Regions from separate parts of the Homo sapiens genome. Here region 2 is linked to region 1. Evidence: promoter capture Hi-C in 16 types of primary human blood cells and fetal thymus (Javierre and others, 2016). All regions are on one chromosome and are shown on one strand. The core of a region is centred on a gene start or on the middle of the fragment in contact, and the rest is flanking DNA. Distances in the headings are between cores, read along the strand shown. Region 1 holds the start of POP5 (POP5 ribonuclease P/MRP subunit). Region 2 holds the start of P2RX7 (purinergic receptor P2X 7).

Evidence for each region. The method cuts DNA at HindIII sites, captures the fragments that hold promoters and counts their contacts. A CHiCAGO score of 5 or more calls a contact.
Region 2: a contact is called between the fragment with the promoter of P2RX7 here and a fragment that was not itself captured in region 1, in 4 of 17 cell types (total B cells, naive B cells, total CD8 T cells and 1 more). The highest score is 8.8, in total B cells.

What each region holds. Positions count from the first base shown.
Region 1 is chr12:120,581,175-120,587,225 of GRCh38, forward strand. It overlaps POP5 (POP5 ribonuclease P/MRP subunit), which reads right to left and starts at 228. Exons shown (of 5, transcript NM_015918.4): 1 at 169-228; 2 at 1-83. The coding sequence starts at 188. RefSeq lists silencers at 3,291-3,660, 3,691-3,760. The HindIII fragment of the contact is 5,644 bases long and covers 255-5,898 here.
Region 2 is chr12:121,128,984-121,135,054 of GRCh38, forward strand. It overlaps P2RX7 (purinergic receptor P2X 7), which reads left to right and starts at 3,893. Exons shown (of 13, transcript NM_002562.6): 1 at 3,893-4,112. The coding sequence starts at 3,988. The region is part of intron 2 of LOC105370032 (a long non-coding RNA gene); the gene reads right to left. RefSeq lists an enhancer at 3-297. The HindIII fragment of the contact is 14,919 bases long and covers 1-6,071 here.

The DNA of each region.
Region 1 (6,051 bases), core at 1,827-4,326:
CCCGTACGAGGCTGCTCAGAACTCGGTCATCGAGGCTTAGGCGGCAGCGGGGGTCGTCAGACACCAGTTCGCAGAGCAGGTACCTGCGGCAGGCGAGAGGAAGGTGGACACTAGCGGGGCCGCGAGGACCCAGCAAGGCACTGGGAGGGTCTGGAAGGGAATGCTTACCTGTGCTTGAACCGCACCATGGCTGCCTCCGCGCTCTCCGGTCCGGCGTGCAAACCGGATGTGAATTCTGTCCGCTGCCAATGGGAAGCTTGCTTCCGCAGCCTTTCAGCCATTCAGAGAAGGAGACAGGATATTAGGGCGGAGCTAGAAAGTTGAGAGGCCGAAGTCTGTCAGCTCTCTCAAGCCCCGCCCAACTGCGTTTGTAAGCGCGCATGCGTCCTGCGGAGGGTCACTGACTAGTTTGAGGGCTGAACCCCGGGATGGAGCGCCTTGCAGCTGTAATGGATGGTTCTGTTGCACACTGAAGTTTACAATAGTGTGTAGGATGTAGCCGCTACCCTTGGGGCCCTGGGAACCTTGCACCACAGTTATGTATGCGAGTATATTCTCTCCCCAAGGTGAACGGTGGAGCTTTTGAGGGCAAGACCCTGCACCTCACAGCCCAGGCATTGACAAACGGGAAATCGGACTTTTATTTTCAGGTTTGAGCTCAGTTTAATTCTTCCATACAGCTAAATATGCTATTGCTGTTTGGGCCTTTCAGCAATCTTAGGGAGGCGAGTGTGCCGTCTCGTTTTTTGCTCGCAGAAACAATACGTGGTCATTGTATTTTCCATTTCCGTTTACCTTTTTTTTTTGACAGAAAAGCACAAAGAAGCAAATAAATTATAATCCCAGCACTGAGAGAGAATAACTGTTGTCGTGTAGTGTGTTTTCTTCTGTCATTTTCTCCCTGCGCCAGTGGTTCTCAAAGTGCCGTCTGGGGACCACTGAGATTTCCTAAATTCACTCGATTTGGGAGTCCCCGAAGTCAAAATTACTTTCATAATAATGCTAAGATGTTACTTGTCTTTTTCATTCTCTCTGAGTGAACAGTCAAGTTTTCCAGAGGCTGCTTGACGTGATGACGTCACTGCTCTAGGAATTGTGTATTGTTTTTTAAACGTTTCTCAACTTTAATGTCCATAGTAAATATAACCCACAAAACTAAAAGCTCTTGGGCACCCTCAGTAACGTGTGTAAAGGGGTCCTGAGACAGAGAAAACAGCTTGAGAACTATGCCCTCTGTTAAATTATGTTTTTTCTTTTATTTTTAAGTATTTTAAAAAAAATGTCTTATGGGGTATTACATAAAGTACATATTCTTAAGTGTATTCATCTCAATGAATTTTTACATATGGATAGACTTCTATAACCACCTCCAAGATTAAAATAAAGAGCATTTCCAGTATCCCAGAAGGTTCCCTGAGCCCTCTTCCAGTCAAATTGCTTACTGCTATCAGCCACTATTACCACTTCTACCCTGCTAGATTAATTTTGCCTGTTCTTAAACTTTATATAAATGCAGCCAGGAGGCTGGCTGCAACCTCTGCCTCCTGAGTTCAAGCGATTCTCCTGCCTCAGCCTCCCGAGTAGCTGGGATTACAGGCACCTGCCACCACGACCAGCTAATTTTTGTATTTATTTATTTAGTTTTTTGAGACGGAGTCTCACTCTGTTGCCCAAGCTGGAGCACGATCTCAGCTCACTGCAACCTCTGCCTCCTGGATTCAGGCGATTCTCCTGCCTCAGCCTCCCAAGTAGCTGGGACTACAGGTGTGTGCCACCACAACTGGCTAATTTTTGTATTTTTAGTAGGGACAGGGTTTCCCCATGTTGGCCAGGCTGGTCTTGAACTCCTGACCTCAGGTGATCCACCCACCTCGGCCTCCCAAAGTGCTGGGATTACAGGCGTGAGCTACCACGCCTGGCCATTTGGCTATATTTTCATGTCAGCTCTTCAGCGACAATACTGTTTTTTAGCTGTGCAGTATTGCATTGTTTGGACGTACCATTGTGAAGTTGGTCAGTATCCCTTTGGTAGACGTTTACATTATTTCTAGATTTTCTTGTTATACCCAATACTTTGATGCATGGCTTTGTAGCTTAGTCTTTATGCCCATCCCTGATTATTTGTAGAAGTGTCTTGGCCTTGGCTGGTCCTGTGAGGTCCGTAATGGGGGCAGCTTTCACAACCTATTTTTGCAAGATCTGGAATGAGTTCTGAATTTTCCCATCTCCCACTCTTCTTGGCCACCTTAAAGGAGGGATGTGGGGGAAGGTAGGGAAGAAAAGAATAGGAAGAGGGAACGCCGTGGCCCTGCCAAGGGACCAGTGACAGTGACGGCACTCCCCACCCAAGAACAACTTTTCACCAGAAAGTGTCTGCGACATCCTCCTTTGGCCAACAGGGGGCGCCAGAGGTCCGCAGTGCGCGGAGAGAGCAAGACACCCCCAACTCCTGAGCGCTCCACCCCTCATAGAAATTTCACTCCTCCCAGCCTTCATTTCAACAGCAATGCTTCGCCCATTTTATAGATGCAGTTGGGGCTCAGACCAAAGCCTCGTATCCAGTTAGGAGCAGGATCAGAATTCGAACCCAAAGCCAGCTGACTCCTTGTTCTGGTCAACACGGTTGGTGCTCTCCCGTGCAGGATTTCACTCGTCCATTTAGTGTAATAAGATGGAGAGACGACAGATGGAGGTTCGATTCGCTACTCCGTCATTTACTGGCCCGGCCAGGTGCTGTCAGGAGGGTTAATTCATGTCTCAGATCTTAGTTTCCTCATCTGTGCAATGGGATAACAATGGTTCCTCCCTCGTGGGTGGATATGAAGTTTAAGCGGGGTCATGTGGACAAAATGCCTGGCACAGCGAGTGCATAGTAAGCCCTTTTTTTGTTTTTGTTTTTTTTGTTTTGTTTGTTTTTTGAGACTGATTTTTAAGACTGTCTTAAAAACAAGAAAAGAAAAAAGAAAATATAGCCAAACAACAGGAATTTTTTGAGACAGTTTTTTGCTCTGTCGCCCAGGCTGGAGTGCAGTGACGCCATGTCGGCTCACTGCAGCCTCTGCCTCCCGGGTTCAAGCAATTCTCCTGCCTCAGCCTCCAGAGTAGCTGGGATTAAGGCGCCTGCCACGACGCCCGGCTAATTTTGTATTTTTAGTAGAGATTTCACCATGTTGGACAGGCTGGTCTCAAACTCCTGACTTCAAGTGATCCGCCCGCCTCGGCCTCCCAAAGTGTTGGGATTACAGGCGTGTGCCACCGCCCTCGGCAAGTAAACGCTGTTCTGAACAAATGATTTACTTTTCCCCCACAGGCACAGCCCCGGGAGGAAGCACATTGGCACGGCCCGCGGCCTCCCAGTCTTGGACCAGGCCCGGCCCCTTCTGGCCCAGGAGGGTGCAGACGCCGGCGGTGGCCGGGCGGGCGGGCTCCCCGCGGTAATTAGCGCGCGCCGGCTCGGGCTGCGCCAGCCGCTAATTATAAGTCTCCTAATGAGGCCGGCGGCTGTTTGCAATCACCCGGGTCCCCGCTGCGCGGCGCGGGAGGCTGCGGGGGAATCCGCCCGCGGAGGCATGGAGGAGGAGCGGCCGTCTTCCCCGGGGCCCGGAGATCCGCTGGACGGCGACGGGGTGTGCCCCGGCCGTGCCCGCCGCCGGAATGCCGGCCGCGAAGGGGCAGCGGCGGGGGCTCACACCCCAACCCCTCCTCGGTTCTCTCCCCAGCCGGGCCGCAGAGCCATTATCCTCCCCAGGTGAGGAAGCCGATGAGGCTCTGAGAGGTGAGCTCACCCAGGTGCGACATCACAACTCACCCAGGTGCACAATAGAGCCCAATCCACGTCTGTCTGACCCCAGCCTGTGCCCTTAGCCGAGTCAGGTATCCCCTGGATCAATGGGGTGGTCACTGTTGTCATTACTGTTAGCATTATTACAGTCGTCCTGGGACTTCTCAGATTCCTTTTTTTTTTTTTTTTTTTTTTTTTGAGATGGAGTCTCCCTCTGCCGCCTAGGCTGGAGTGCAGTGGCGCGATCTCAGCTCACTGCAACCTCTGCCTCCCGGGTTCAAGCGATTCTTCTGGCTCAGCCTCCCCAGTAGCTGGGACTACGGGCACGTGCCACCTCGCCTGGCTAATTTTTTATATTTTTAGTAGAGACAGGGTTTTACCGTGTTAGCCAGGATGCTCTCCATCTCCTGACCTCGTGATCCACCCACCTTGGCCTCCCAAAGTGCTAGGATTACAGGCGTGAGCCACCGCGACCGGCCTTTTTTTTTTTTTTTTCTGAGACAGGATCTCACTCTGTCCCACAGGCTTGAGGGCAGTAGCTCCATCTTGGCTCACCGCAACCTCTGCCTCCTAGGTTCAAGCGATTCTCCTGCCTCAGCCTCCTGAGTAGCTGGGACTACAGGTGCCCACCACTATACCTGGCTATTTTTTGTATTTTTAGCAGAGATGGGGTTTTGCCATGTTGGCCGGGCTGGTCTCGAACTCCTGGCCTCATGTGATCTGCCTGTCTGGGCCTCCCAAAGTGCTGGGATTACAGGTGTGAGCCACCGTGTCCAGCCGGGATCACTGTCTTTATTCTTCATCCGTGTCTCCTGGGTGATCATTAATTGGGCTCTCCCAGTGTGCTGGCCACTGTCTTTTCTGGGTTTGATTGATTGAGTCCTCACATCAGCCTCATGAAGTTAGGACCCATTATCCTCTGAGACACAGGGAGGAAAATGGCTTGCCCAAGTTGACACAGTAAATTTGGGTGGACATCTGTCTTACCCTAAAACCTGTGCTCTTAACCCCTTGCTCTCTACTCTGTATTCGGGGACCTAGAAAGATGCTGAGGAAGGAGAGCGCAACTGGGGTACCATTCTGAGGTGACTTTGGCATCCGAGGGGTTTCTGTCAGAGCCCAGATGCTGCTGTTGTGGATGGTGGCAAAGGGAAACTGTATCTGCTCCAGCATTTTATTAAGCAGCCACTGCTCGTAAGAGGCTCCTACTCCTCGAATCTTAACCAATTTTCTGTAAAACCCTTATGGGGACAATCTAGATGAAATTAAACCCTCCATCTGCTTAGCCAGGGGCTTGGGGAGCCGCCACATCCTCCAGGTTGCTGGGACAGATGCAGCCCTCCCTGGACTTCAGTCAAAACATTGCATCTTGCTCCTCCTTTGTCCTCGCTGCCCTGTGAACCTCTTTCCCTGTCCCCGCCTGCTGTGAGAATTCGCTCATCCAAAAATTAATTGAAATTACAAGGGCTCTACTGTTTGACCCAGCAATTTCTCCACCAGCAATTTCTCCCACAGAGATTGTCGCATTTGTGCCAAATGACAGGTGAATGAGGATGTGTCTTGCTTGCAGCATCGTTGGTTATAGCAAAAGGCCACCTCAGTGTTTACCAGAAGGGGTCCACTGTATGTGTGTATTTATCGGACAACTATGGGCCAGGGAATGTTCATTCTAAACACTGCCTAGGCTGGGCGCGGTGGCTCACGTCTGCAATCCCAGCACTTTGGGAGGCCGAGGTGGGCGGATCACTTGAGGTCAGGAGTTCGAGACCAGCCTGGCCAATATGGTGAAACCCCATCTCTACTAAAAATACAAAAAACTAGCTGGGCATGGTGGTAGTTGCCTGTAAATCCCAGCTACTCGGGAGGCTGAGGCAGGAGGATCGCTTGAACCCAGGAGGCAGAGGTTGCAGTGAGCTGAGACTGTGCCACTGCACTCCAGCCTGGGCAACAGAGCAAAACTCTGTCTCAAAAAATAAATAAATAAATAAACAAATAAACACTGCCTAGACTGACTCATTTAATCCTGACAACTACCCTATAAAGTAGGTACTTGGTTTTATTAACCCCATTTTACAGATGAGGAAACTGAGGCTCAGGGAGAACAAACTGTTGGCCTAAGCTTCACGTAGCTTGTCCACAGCAGGGCCAGAATTTGGATCAGGCAGTCCATGTTCTTAACCACTGTTCTATATGGCTTCTCTGCCTTTATTTGCATCGAAAATTTCCAAAGGGTGACCCAAGAAGCTGTTGATGGTGGTTACCTCTGGGGA
Region 2 (6,071 bases), core at 2,643-5,142, 550 kb after region 1:
CCCTTCTCTCTCTCTCTCTCTCCCGCCATCTTCCTTTCTTTCCTCCCTCCCTTCTCCCCCAACGGAGGTTGGCCCTTGACGCCCTGTGTGATTATGGCCCCGCCCACAGCCATAGCTGATTGGACCAGGGATAAAGAATTAGGCCAATCAGATTCATTCCCCTTGAGTTCTGGAACTGGGCAGGGGATCTGGGCTTGCATTTGAACTGTGGAACCTAACTTGGAGAGCATTGCTGAACCACGTGCCCTGGGAGAAACAGAGGAAGCCAGTGTTTAGAGAGACTCGCAATGGGCACACAGAGACAAACAGAGGCGGGCTTCAGACAAACTGAAAGAGCAACCTCAGCACAGGACAGTTTGGTTTCTGATTCTATTAATAGGTTCTCATGAGGTTGGGCACATTTCCTGCACTTGCAGTCTGTGAGATAAGTGTTTCCTCAAAAAAAAAAACTCCCTTTTCTGCTGAAGAATGTCACTTGATTTTCTGTAAATTGTAAACACACCCACACACTCACAAGACTAAGAAATCCACCGTTCAATCCCCAATTTTTTTTTTTTTGGTAACTTTATATTCCTTCCATCACGAGGTCAGAACATTTCATTGCTGCTGTGAGACTCTCCAGAGTTCTCATTAAAGAGTTCAAGACAATGGCTGTTCCGTTAGCCTCGATCTCTGAGTGATTACAGAGAGCTGAGCCATCTGGGAGACCCATGATGGACATATAGTGTGAGTGAGAATTAATTCATCACTGCTATAAGCCATGAGACACTGAGAGTGCTTTGTTATTGCAGCATAACCTGTCCTATCCTGATAGAATCATAAGAAGTGCTGAGAGACAATTTGCTGGAACTGATATTTACAGGGAGAAGAGAGCCAGAGAAAGATAAGACAAAGATTGGATGCAGTGGCTTATGCCTGTAACCCCAGCACTTTGGAAGGCTGAGTCAGGAGGATCACTTGAAGCCAGGAGTTCGAGACCAGCCTGGGCAGCATAGCAAGACCCTATCTCTACAAAATTAAAAAAAAAATTAACGAGGCTTGGTGGCATGTGCCTGTGGTCCCAGCTACTCAGGAGGCTGTGGTAGGGGGATCACTGGAGCCCAGAAGTTTGAAGCTGCAGTGAGCCATGATTGCGCCACTGCACTCCAGCCTGGACGACAGAGCAAGACCCAGTCTCTAAAATAAATTAATTAAATTAATTTTTTAAAAAGAAAGATAAGATAAAGAGTCATAGAAGTACAAATGAGAAACCAGGAGAACATGGGACCCAGGAAAGTCATGGAAACCAAGGGAAAATACTGGTCCAAGATGCAGAAAGTAGCCAGTGATGTTGAATGCATCCAAGAGATCAAGTAACATAAGGAATAAAATATATCCACCCAGTCTGGCAACTGAGAAGTCTTTGGTAACCTCTTTGAGAACAGAATCCATGGAGTGGAGGAGGTAGCAGTGATGAAATAGCGGACAAGGGCTGAAGGAGTGGAGAGGGGAGAGCATGAGGGACCAGTGCAAGAGTGCAGCAGAAAGACAACAAACAGGCCGGGTGTAGTGGCTCACGCCTGTAATCCCAACACTTTGGTAGGCTAAGGCGGGCAGATCGCTTGTGACCAGGAGTTCGAGACCAACCTAGCCAACATGGTGAAACCCCATCTCTACTAAAAACACAAAAATCAGCTGAGCGTGCGCATGGCTGTAATTGCAGATACTCATGAGGCTGAGGCACAAGAATCGCTTGAACCCAGGAGGCAGGGGTTGCAGTGACCCAAAGTCTTGCCACTGCACTACAGCCTGGGCAACAGGGGGAGACTCCATCTCAAAAAAACAAAAAAAAAAAAAAAAAAAAAAAAAGAAAGAAAGAAAAGAGAAAGAAAGAAAGACAAGAAAATAGATGTCTTTGAGTGGTAGCAAGAGCAACACTGAAGTGATTTGCCTATTCTGGACATTTCCTATAAATGGAGTCGTAAAAGATGTATCCTTTTGTGTCTGGCCTCTTTCACTTAAGCGTAGTGTTTTCAAGGTTCATCCATGTTGGAGCATGGGTCAGTGTTTCATTCCTTTTTATGGCTGAATAATATTCCCTTGTATGGGCTTTCGTGCTTTTGTGTATCCATCCATCAGCTGATGGACATTTGACTTGTCTGCCTGTTCACTGCCATATCTACTATTCCTGGTGCTCTTGGGAATGAGTGAATGAATAGCATAAACAGAGCTGTCCAGGGTCACAGAGCTGGTAAGATGTGAAGCCAGGATCGGAAGCCAGGCCATTAGTCCCCTAGAGCCTATGTTCTAAGCATCAGGCTTTACCTGTGAATCTCCTCTTTTTACAGATGAAGATGACCGTATCACTCAGATTCCCGGCAGGAAAGCAATGGCATACTCAAGTGGGGTAACTAATGATGGAACCATTTACAAAGGTGTGGACAGAGTTAAGAAAAAGCAATAGGAGATAGTGAGCTTCCTGGGGCTGGTAAGAGTGGGGAGCCCTTACCACTCCCAGGACTAAAGGAGGGAGTGGTGCCCAGAAGCCCTGCCTATATGCAACTGAGAAGGGCAGGGCCAGGGAGTCACGTCCATCCTCACTGCTCTCCAGTCTCCTGAACTGGAAGCCAGAAGGTGAGGGGAACCCTGATGCAGTTTGTATGTGTGAGAAAGTACAATTAGTTTAGACTGAAAAACTGAAAATCTACCCGGCCACTTAGCAGGCTGGAATAACAGAAAGGGATCAAGCCAGCTGTAAAGATAACAGGGAACAATAATTCTCTGTAGCTGTAAAGTGATAATACAACCCTGCATCTTTGAGTGACTGCTGAAACATTGTCCTTTAAAATCAGAGACCTTCAGAAACTTTGCTGTTTGAAATTACATGACTAAGACTGAAATATTCCAATTTTGCCTGGAAGATTTAAGTCATCTTGACACAGAGAAGCAGCCTCAATTTACAACTCAGGAGCAGAGCTTCAGATAAAGATTTTCTGGACACATTTGACATGTATCTTAGCTATGTTGCTTCCTAGGAAACAGGGCCCTGGGTCCTCTTTGCAATCCAGACTGAAGTTGACTGCTTTGTACAAACCTGTTTTGCTTTGAGTCCATCAAAACATGACTTCATTTAGATTTTATCTCAACTCCACTTTCCTCGGAATCCTATAATAAATTGCTGTTTTCCTTTGTTTGGTGATGTGCGTAGCTCTTCTGGTGGGTGGTGTCCCTCACTGAATAGGTCAACAAACCTAACTTTGTTGGACTGCCACTGTGTCCCTGGTGATCTTTGGCTGATTGGTCTAGGTCATAGATCGACCTGCCGGGGTGCAGAGGAGGGTGGAGAGTAACTCAGAGGGTCAAGCATGAAAGATCTGGCAGAAAAATAAAGCCCCTCCACCCCCACCACCCCTACCCCTGCAAATCTGATTTCCCCCACCAACTGCAGACCAGAGTATTATAAGGGGCGGTGGAAGAAGAGGGGGAGATCTTCATTTACCCAGAGCTCCTATACATCAGGGGCTGAATAAAGGGTTGTAGAAATGAATGAATCAATCTCTGAGTGGGGCTTCAGGCAATGGAAAGATCTCAGTCCTTTTCTGAGGCATAATGGAAGCTCCCAGTCTTGTGACATTTGCAAGGCTGCCCCTTTCTCCCAAGAGACATGAGACCAAAAAAGTGAAAGGAAAGGGGGGAAAAGGGAGAATTCTAAAAATGCCCATCCTCTGAACACCATCTTTGTGTAGGCATCTGGGGGAGGCCAGCTGGGGTGAGGTCATCTGCCAGCCAGGCCCGTAGGACTTGGCGCTTCTTGTTTATCACAGCCACATGTGGGGCCACTGCCAGGGCCCGCCCCAACTCTGCAGTCATTGGAGGAGCTTGAAGTTAAAGACTCCTGCTAAAAACCAGTACGTTTCATTTTGCAGTTACTGGGAGGGGGCTTGCTGTGGCCCTGTCAGGAAGAGTAGAGCTCTGGTCCAGCTCCGCGCAGGGAGGGAGGCTGTCACCATGCCGGCCTGCTGCAGCTGCAGTGATGTTTTCCAGTATGAGACGAACAAAGTCACTCGGATCCAGAGCATGAATTATGGCACCATTAAGTGGTTCTTCCACGTGATCATCTTTTCCTACGTTTGGTAAGTGGGATCTGGGGAGGACCCAGATCTCTGCAGTGGCCGACAGCACAGAAAGCCCCAGCGGGCAGCTTCAGGTGCACATTCTGAATCTCACATGGTTTTCGAATCTGAGACGTGCTCTCACAGCCAGCTGGGCGGGAGGGAGGAAGCAGCAGCAGGCAAGAGGAAACGGTGCCAGGCTGCAGCAGAGAGAAGCCACAGGACAAGCGGGATTCCTTTCTGCTCTACTTCAGGCCCGCCAGGGCGCGCAGGGCAGGGCGTGCCTGGGGAAGGTAGGAAAGCGCAGGGCAACACCCTGGATCCCCAGGGAGGAGGCGAGGATCTCAGGGCACGCCTGGTGATCATGCTGGCATCTGAGTCACCATGCTTGGGAGGAATAGGACCAGGCTTGAAAATGTGTTATAACTTTAGGTCCTCACCAACGTCAGGAAGGCCCTGCTTTTTGGTTTTTGTTTCTTCTAAAAGAAACTTACTGAGATATAATTTATACACCATACAATTGACCCATTTAAAGGGTACCATTTAATGATTTTCAGATTATTCCCAGAGTTGTGCAACCATCCCCACAATCAATTTTAGAATATTTTAATCGACTCAAAAGGAATCCCACACTCCTTCACCATCATTTCCAACACTGTTCCTCCTCCTTCCCACCCATCAATTTCCTTTCTGCCTCTATGGATTTGCCGATTCTGGACATTTCATATAAATGGAATCACATAATATGTGGTCCTTTGTGGCACTTAGCGTGTTTTCAATGCTCATCCATGTTGTAGCATGTGTTGATACTTCATTCAATTTTTTTTTTTAAAGAGACGGGGTCTCACTATTTTGTCCAGGCTGGTCTCAAACTCCTGGACTCAAGTGATCTGCCTGCCTCGGCCTCCCAAAGTGTCAGGATTACAGGCGTGAGCCATTGCACCCGGCTGATACTTCATTCCTTTTTACGGCTGAGTAGTACTCCATTGCATGGATAGACCACTTTTTTCTATCCATTCATCCATTGATGGACATTGGGGTTGTTTCTCTTTTTTGGCTATCATGAATAATGCCACATGAACATTTGTGTACAAGGTTTTATGTGGATATATATTCTCCTTTCTCTCGAATATGTACCTAAGAGTAAAAATTGCTAGGTCATATGTTAACTATGTTTCACCTTTGGGGGGAATGTGGAGCTGAATTTCACAGCAGCTGCAGTTTTTTACATTCCTATCAGCAGAGTATGAGGGATCCAATTTCTCCACATCCTCACCAACGCTTGTTATCGTCTGTCTTTTTGGGTTTTGTTGTTGTCATTTTGTTTTTGTCTTTGAGATGAAGTCTTGCTCTGTTGCCCAGGCTGGAGTGCAGTGGCGCAATCTTGGCTCACTGCAACCTCCACCTCCCCGGTTCAAGCGATTCTCCTGCCTCAGCCTCATGAGTAGCTGGGATTACAGGTGTGCGTCACCACTCCTCACTAATTTTTGTATTTTTAGTAGAGATGAGGTTTCGCCATGTAGGCCAGGCTGGTCTCAAACTCCTGACCTCAAGTGATCCGCCCACCTTGGCCTCCCAAAGTGCTGGGATTACAGGCATGAGCCGCCACGCCCGGCTGATTGTCTGTCTTTTTTATTATAGCCATGCTAGTGGGTGTGAAGTGGTAGTTCATTGTGGTTGTGATTTGAATTTCCCTGATGGTGAGTGCCTCTTATTCTCTGTGCTGATTGATAATGATGATGAAGGCAATTTGTATCTATAGAGTGGCAGTGTAGTTTACTAAGAGTTAGGGTAACTTATTTCATAGTACTGGCTATGTCTTCTGGGCCAAGTCATTAACTTCTCTGAGCCTCAGTTTCTGCATCTGTTCATAGGGTTGTGGCAATTAACCAAAAAAAAAAGGCATGAACAGCCCTTATCATGATGACTGACATAGGATAAGAGCTCCATAACTAGTATCTATTTTTAAAAATAATCTTT